Regions from separate parts of the Homo sapiens genome. Here region 1 is linked to region 2. The links are contacts of gene promoters, found by promoter capture Hi-C in human tissues and cell types (Jung and others, 2019). All regions are on one chromosome and are shown on one strand. The core of a region is centred on a gene start or on the middle of the fragment in contact, and the rest is flanking DNA. Distances in the headings are between cores, read along the strand shown. Region 1 overlaps SLC6A1 (solute carrier family 6 member 1). Region 2 holds the start of SLC6A1 (solute carrier family 6 member 1).

Region 1 (2,872 bases), core at 112-2,611, 36 kb after region 2:
ACAATTTGTGCAGTTAATGCAATCATCACAAGGTCCTGTGGCAACATTCATCCTCAGCTTACAAAGATGATGGGATTAAGATATTAAAGTAAAGACGGGCATAGGAAATCACAAGAGTATTGATTGGGGAAGTGATAAGTGTCCATGAAATCTTCACAATTTATGTTCAGAGATTGCAGTAAAGGCAGGTGTAAGAAATTATAAAAGTATTAATTTGGGGAACTAGTGTCAATGAAATCTTCACAATCTATGTTCTTCTGCCATGGCTTCAGCCGGTCCCTCTGTTTGGGGTCCCTGACCTCCCGCAACACTTTGGCTCAATTCAGACATGTTCATCACCATACTACAAAGACCACTAAATCCATGCTTTTGTCTCAGCTCCAAAAATGTTCTCGCCAAGTGGGCCATGCCCACTCTGCTCACCACACAGTCATCAATGCCACAGAACCCAAGGAAAACCCCAGACAGCCCTTCGCTGCACAGCCAGGCAAGCAGCCAACAGGTGGAACCCACTGTATGCAGGGCAGAGGCCCCTGAGGCTCATGGAGGCCACACGGCTGGTCCCTTGAAGAAGTGGGCTGGTTCCGTGAAAGGAGCATTCTCTGCTCCGGTTCTAATCTCCCCTTCAAGGGCAGCCACCATCTCGTTTCTCTGCAATTCCCCAACCATTCCCCCACCCCCATCCGGAGCCAGACCCAGGGAGGTTACAATCTCTTTCCTTCTCATTCCGAGATTTCCTGATCTCTTAGACACCCCCACCAACTACTCAAACACAATACATGCCAAACAAGGCTCCAAAGCCTTCTCCTCCACCATGCTCCCCATCACAGAAGGGTCCCATGGTCCAGTGCCCAGGGTGGAGACCTCAGCATTGTCCTGGACTCTTCCCTCACCCTCATCCTGCAAACCAGCCAATACCAGCACCTGCCCCTCCATCCCCTACATATCTCTCTATCTGGTTGCCTCTCTGCACCTGCACTATCCTCACTACTGGCCAAGCCATGCCATCCCCCATCGAGATGATGGCCACAGCTCCTCACTGGTCCTCTTGCCTCTGGGCACAATTACTATGGCCCCACATCCCCCACCCTCTTTCTGCACCTGGAAAAAGGGGCTGAAAACACTCACTCAAAAGGTTACTCTGAAGATGAAATGAAATAAGGCTTAGAAAATGGGCAGTGTGCTGGAAAGGCTGTAGGTGATGAGTACCTTTTATTTTTCTTCTTTTTTGCACTTCTCTGTTCAGGCCCCGGGCTGGCGTTCCTGGCATACCCAGAGGCGGTGACCCAGCTGCCTATCTCCCCACTCTGGGCCATCCTCTTCTTCTCCATGCTGTTGATGCTGGGCATTGACAGCCAGGTGAGGGCGCCCCCCCCGCACCCCAGGAGCTCTCCATCCCCAGACTCCTCAGTCCCCGAGTAAACAGGGAGAGGAGGCAACTCTTAGGCTGCCAAGAAGATGACCAAAAATTCCAGGTCCCTAGAATGTTCCACTGCATGAAATTTCAGGAAACAGCTCAGCCACCTTCTCCATTTTCCAGAAGGGGAAACTGATGCCCAGAGGGGAGGGACTCTCCTGAGGTCACAAAGTGAGTCACAGGCAGAATCAGGCTGGACCCTGGGCTCTCCTGGCTCGGTGCTGCTGGGCCTCCCGTCCTTCCTTAGAGGGCCAGGCTTTGGGTGGGTTGGGGCTGGGGCTGCTGCAGGTGGCTGACCTCTGTTCCCACCTGAAGTTCTGCACTGTGGAGGGCTTCATCACAGCCCTGGTGGATGAGTACCCCAGGCTCCTCCGCAACCGCAGAGAGCTCTTCATTGCTGCTGTCTGCATCATCTCCTACCTGATCGGTCTCTCTAACATCACTCAGGTAAGCTCAGTAAGCACCTGGCACTCCCCCAGCACTGCCCAGGGCCATGCCCAGGGCCTCCTCTCCCCTCCTCTGTTGTATCCCACCTTTCCTGCCTTCATTGAGCATCATCTCTGTGCCAAGCTCTGGGCACATAACAGTGAGTCAGATGGGGTCCCTGCCCTCCAGAGGCTCCCAGGCTGGTGGAGACACAAACATTGAGCTAAGACATATAGGACAGAGCTAGAGAATGCAGCACCTAACTGGACTCGGAGCACCAGGGACTGCTTCTTGGAGGAGGGGATGTAGAAATTGAGCTTTGAAAGGCCCACAGAAGGCCTGGCATGGTGGCTCATGTCTATAATCCCAGCACTTTGGGAGGCAGAGGCCGGCGGATCACCTGAAGTCAGGAGTTTGAGACCAGCTTGGCCAATGTGGTGAAAACCCGTCTCTACTTAAAAAAATAAAATAAAGTAAATAAATAATACAAAAATTAGTCAGGCATTGGGGCAGGTGCCTGTAATCCCAGCTACTTGGGAGGCTGAGGTAGGAGAATTGCTTGAACCCGGGAGGCAGAGGTTGCAGTGAGCTGAGATCGCGCCATTGCACTCCAGCCTGGGCAACAAGAGCGAAAAACTCTGTCTCAAAAAAAAAAAAAAAAAAGAAAGAAAGAAAGAAAGACAGAAAAAGAAAAGAAAGGCCCACAGAAATTAGCCAGAAAGTCAAATTGGAGTTGAGCCTTTGAAGTTGACACTGCCCAAAGCTTTCTTTCATTCCCATTTTTCTTTTGTATTGACATGAATGAGAAATGCTCACATAGCTGGTGAATTGTGCAATAAATATAAACGACTCTAGCAACATGAGTTCAGCACTGCGGGTCTGATTTTTATAATCCACAAATCACCCCCACCCCCCCCCCACCAGATCCAAATGTAGTTCTGCTCCAGAGTTAGTATTCATTCATCCCTTCATTCATAGTTGTCAAATACCTACTATGGGCCTGGCATGACCCCAGAAATTTGGCAATTA
Region 2 (2,962 bases), core at 301-2,800:
GGAATCCCCTGCTGGACTAGAATCCCCTGCATGTGTGCTCCTGGCAGAGCTTGTCATTCTGGGTTTGTGCGGTTATTTGATGAAAGCCTGTCTCCCATACTGGACTGGCATCACCTTGAAAGCTGTGGCCTGTCTTGTCCATCGCTCTGTCCCTGGAGCCTAGGACAGTGCCTGGCACACAGGTGGAACTCGGGAAATATTTATTTGAAATACCAACGGAAGTCCACAGCACATATGACCTGGTGATCAGTGGTGGGAGGTGAATGGGTCAAGAAAGACACCAAGATTCCCTGCTCATGAGTGAGAGTGTGGGGAAACAGAAGAAGTCAGGGTGACCTTGGTGAGCACTGCCCTGGGGGACTCGAGGATGGATGAAAGCAGGGAGGAGGCCAGATTAGGTGGGGTAGAGGACCTGAGGTCCATCAGCAAAGGCCATCCCTGGGGACAAAGAGAGGAGGGGAAGAGTAGGTCTGGGCTGGAGAGAAGGAATCTTTTCTCTGAGTTCCTGGGGACCCCAGAGGGAAGGGCAGATGTGGCCCCATTCCCAGAAGCCTTTATAAAAGAGGGTGGGGAGGTCAGGCCTTGGCAAGGACAAGGGAAGGAGTCCCTACGTGCTGGATTGGGATTGGCTGGAAAGGGGACTTCTCTGGGAGAATCCCTCAAACCTCAAGAACTGAGAGAAGGGTGTCTGGGGCTCCTGCCACCATCCCTGTTTCCCTTTTAAGTAATCTGTTTCCCCATCTGTCCATCCATACACACAGCCACTTGTGTCTCCATGACCAACCGCTGGCAGTGGAAGGGTGTCCTTCCCACCCCCACTCTTACACACACTCCCAGCTGGTACCCAGAGCCTGGTCACCCCAGGCCAGGCCTGTGTTTCCAGGTGTAACGGGCAGCAGACGCTGCCCTAGGACTAGAGCAGGGAGGGGGCACGGGCCCACCCCAACCCACAGCGACCCACAGAGGGCGAAAAGAGGACGACCGCAGAGAGAAACGGAAAGGACAGGCCAACGGAAGCAGTACTGCAAGGCTGGAAGGAGAAAAGCCAGGAGGGGAGTGCTTGCTGTGAAAGACAGGGAGACAGAGACCAAGACGGACAGGCAGACAGGCTGGTGACCCAGGATGAGGCCGGAAAGAGCCATCAAAGGAAGGAGAAGGAAGGAGAGAGATTGGAGCGGGACGGCGGGGCAGGCGAGGGAAGGAGGGGGTGGGGAGAGGGAGGGAGGAAGAGAGGGGAGAAAGAGGGAGGAAGAGAGGGGAGAAGGAGGGAGAAGAGAGCGGGAGAATGCGAGAGGAAAGAAGGGAGAGGGGAGGCGTAGAAGGGGAGAGGAGGTGAAGGGAAAAGGAGAGAGCCTGCTGGCGGCGAAGCTGCAAGAGGCAGCTGCGGAGGGAGCGCGCGGCGGGCCTGGGGGAGCGCTGGGCGGGGGCGGGCGGTGCGGGCAGGGCTATACCCGAGCTGGGCGGGCTCCGGGCGCCGCGGGCCCTGCCCTCCCCCTCCATCCCTCCGGACTCGCTCCCCCCTCCTCTCCCTTCCCCGCGACCCTCCGCCCGCCCTCGGAAGACCGAGACAGCGGAGAGGTTGCGGGTGAGCTGCGCTGAGCCCAGGAGCCGAGGAGTCGGGAGCGCAGTAGCGCTGAGCCCGAGCCCGAGCGGCCCCGCGTCCCGAGCGCATCGGAGCGGCCGAGCCGCCCGGATGCAGCGCCTGTCCCGGGCAGCGCAGCCCCGGCCGCAGGTAGGAAAGGGCGGCCGGCGTCGGGGCGCGGGGCGCAGAGCCTGGGATAACGGCGCAGGAACGGCCAGAGCCCCGAGCCGCTGCCGCGAGCCGGGCCGGGTGGGGGGCGGACACCTCGAGATTCAAGCCCCCGCGCCGCACCTTCCCTGAGCCACATGAAGGAGCAGAGGCGCCGCTCGGACCCCGACGTGCGCCCAGGCCATCCGTCCCCTGGGACACTCGGGAGGCAGGAGGGCTGGAACAGAGGCGAGAGTTGCATGCCCCTTCCCTCCCGCGGTGCCCCACTGGCCCCGCAAGTTGGCACTGGATTCTGCTGGAGCCGTCGAAGCTCCCTATTCATTCCCCAGGGCATGGAGGGGACGCGGAGTGAATGACACGAGCAGCGTTGGGGGGCCGTGCGCCACTTTCCCAATCCTGGGGTCAGCTGAGCCGAGTTAGAGCTATGCCCCTCATTTGTTCTCTGCGGGCTACGGCGGGGTCGGGTGCGACTTGAGGATGGGACGTCTCTGGGACAGCCCGAGCTCTCAGAAACGTTGGCTTAAAAGCACACCGGGGCTTGGGCTGAGTGCACCGGAGCTAAGCCTAGTGCACCAGAGCTCGCGCCGCGCTCTCCCAGCCCCGACTTTCTCCAAGAGATGTGGGGTGCGGGCGGTCCCTTAGAGGGCTGGAGGACGGTGCCTCCTTGCTGCTTCGGGAACTGCGCTCCCCTTCTTGCTTTTGGTCTCTGCGTGTACTCCCCGGCGCGACACCGCTCACCACGGTAGCCTCGGGCAGTGCCCATTGGGTTCTGAGCACACGTCCCCACGGGTGGCACCCACAGATGTCCTGTTCTAGGCTTGGCTCGGTCTTCAGACAAGAAACTCAGACCGGGCAGTCCCCTATTGAGGCTCTGAGCTAATATCCTCCCAAAATAGACATGAACCACAAGGAGAATTTTTTAAAAGCCAAATGATAACACCACGTTCTTTCCGGATGTGGGGCTGGAGCGCTCATTCCCTTTCCCAGGAAGCTCAGCCTTATCCCCATGAAGAGCTGGGGGGGCGGGGAGGGCGGGAATAAAATGGCTCCTGAGATTTGTGACACCCCAAAAATCAGAGACGGTATCAGACTGAGTGGCATTGGGGGTCTACCTTTGTTTTTCTATGACACACAAGGTGGGTGTTTGGCAAGAGAGTAGGGATGTTGGGTGCTGGATAGTGCCTAGATTCTGTGTCTTTGGGAACTTTGGGG

The links. Contacts are between HindIII fragments. The study calls those that stand out against the background at their distance.
Region 1: a fragment that was not itself captured here is called in contact with the fragment with the promoter of SLC6A1 in region 2 in 2 of the 25 tissues and cell types used here (aorta and spleen).

The regions. Positions count from the first base shown.
Region 1 is chr3:11,027,489-11,030,360 of GRCh38, forward strand. It overlaps SLC6A1 (solute carrier family 6 member 1), which reads left to right. Exons shown (of 16, transcript NM_003042.4): 11 at 1,247-1,359; 12 at 1,733-1,864. Among named protein-coding and RNA genes, the nearest start is that of SLC6A1-AS1, 9.7 kb to the left of the region's middle. The HindIII fragment of the contact is 7,309 bases long and covers 1-2,872 here.
Region 2 is chr3:10,991,198-10,994,159 of GRCh38, forward strand. It overlaps SLC6A1 (solute carrier family 6 member 1), which reads left to right and starts at 1,551. Exons shown (of 16, transcript NM_003042.4): 1 at 1,551-1,732. RefSeq lists an enhancer at 1,871-2,395. The HindIII fragment of the contact is 17,540 bases long and covers 1-2,962 here.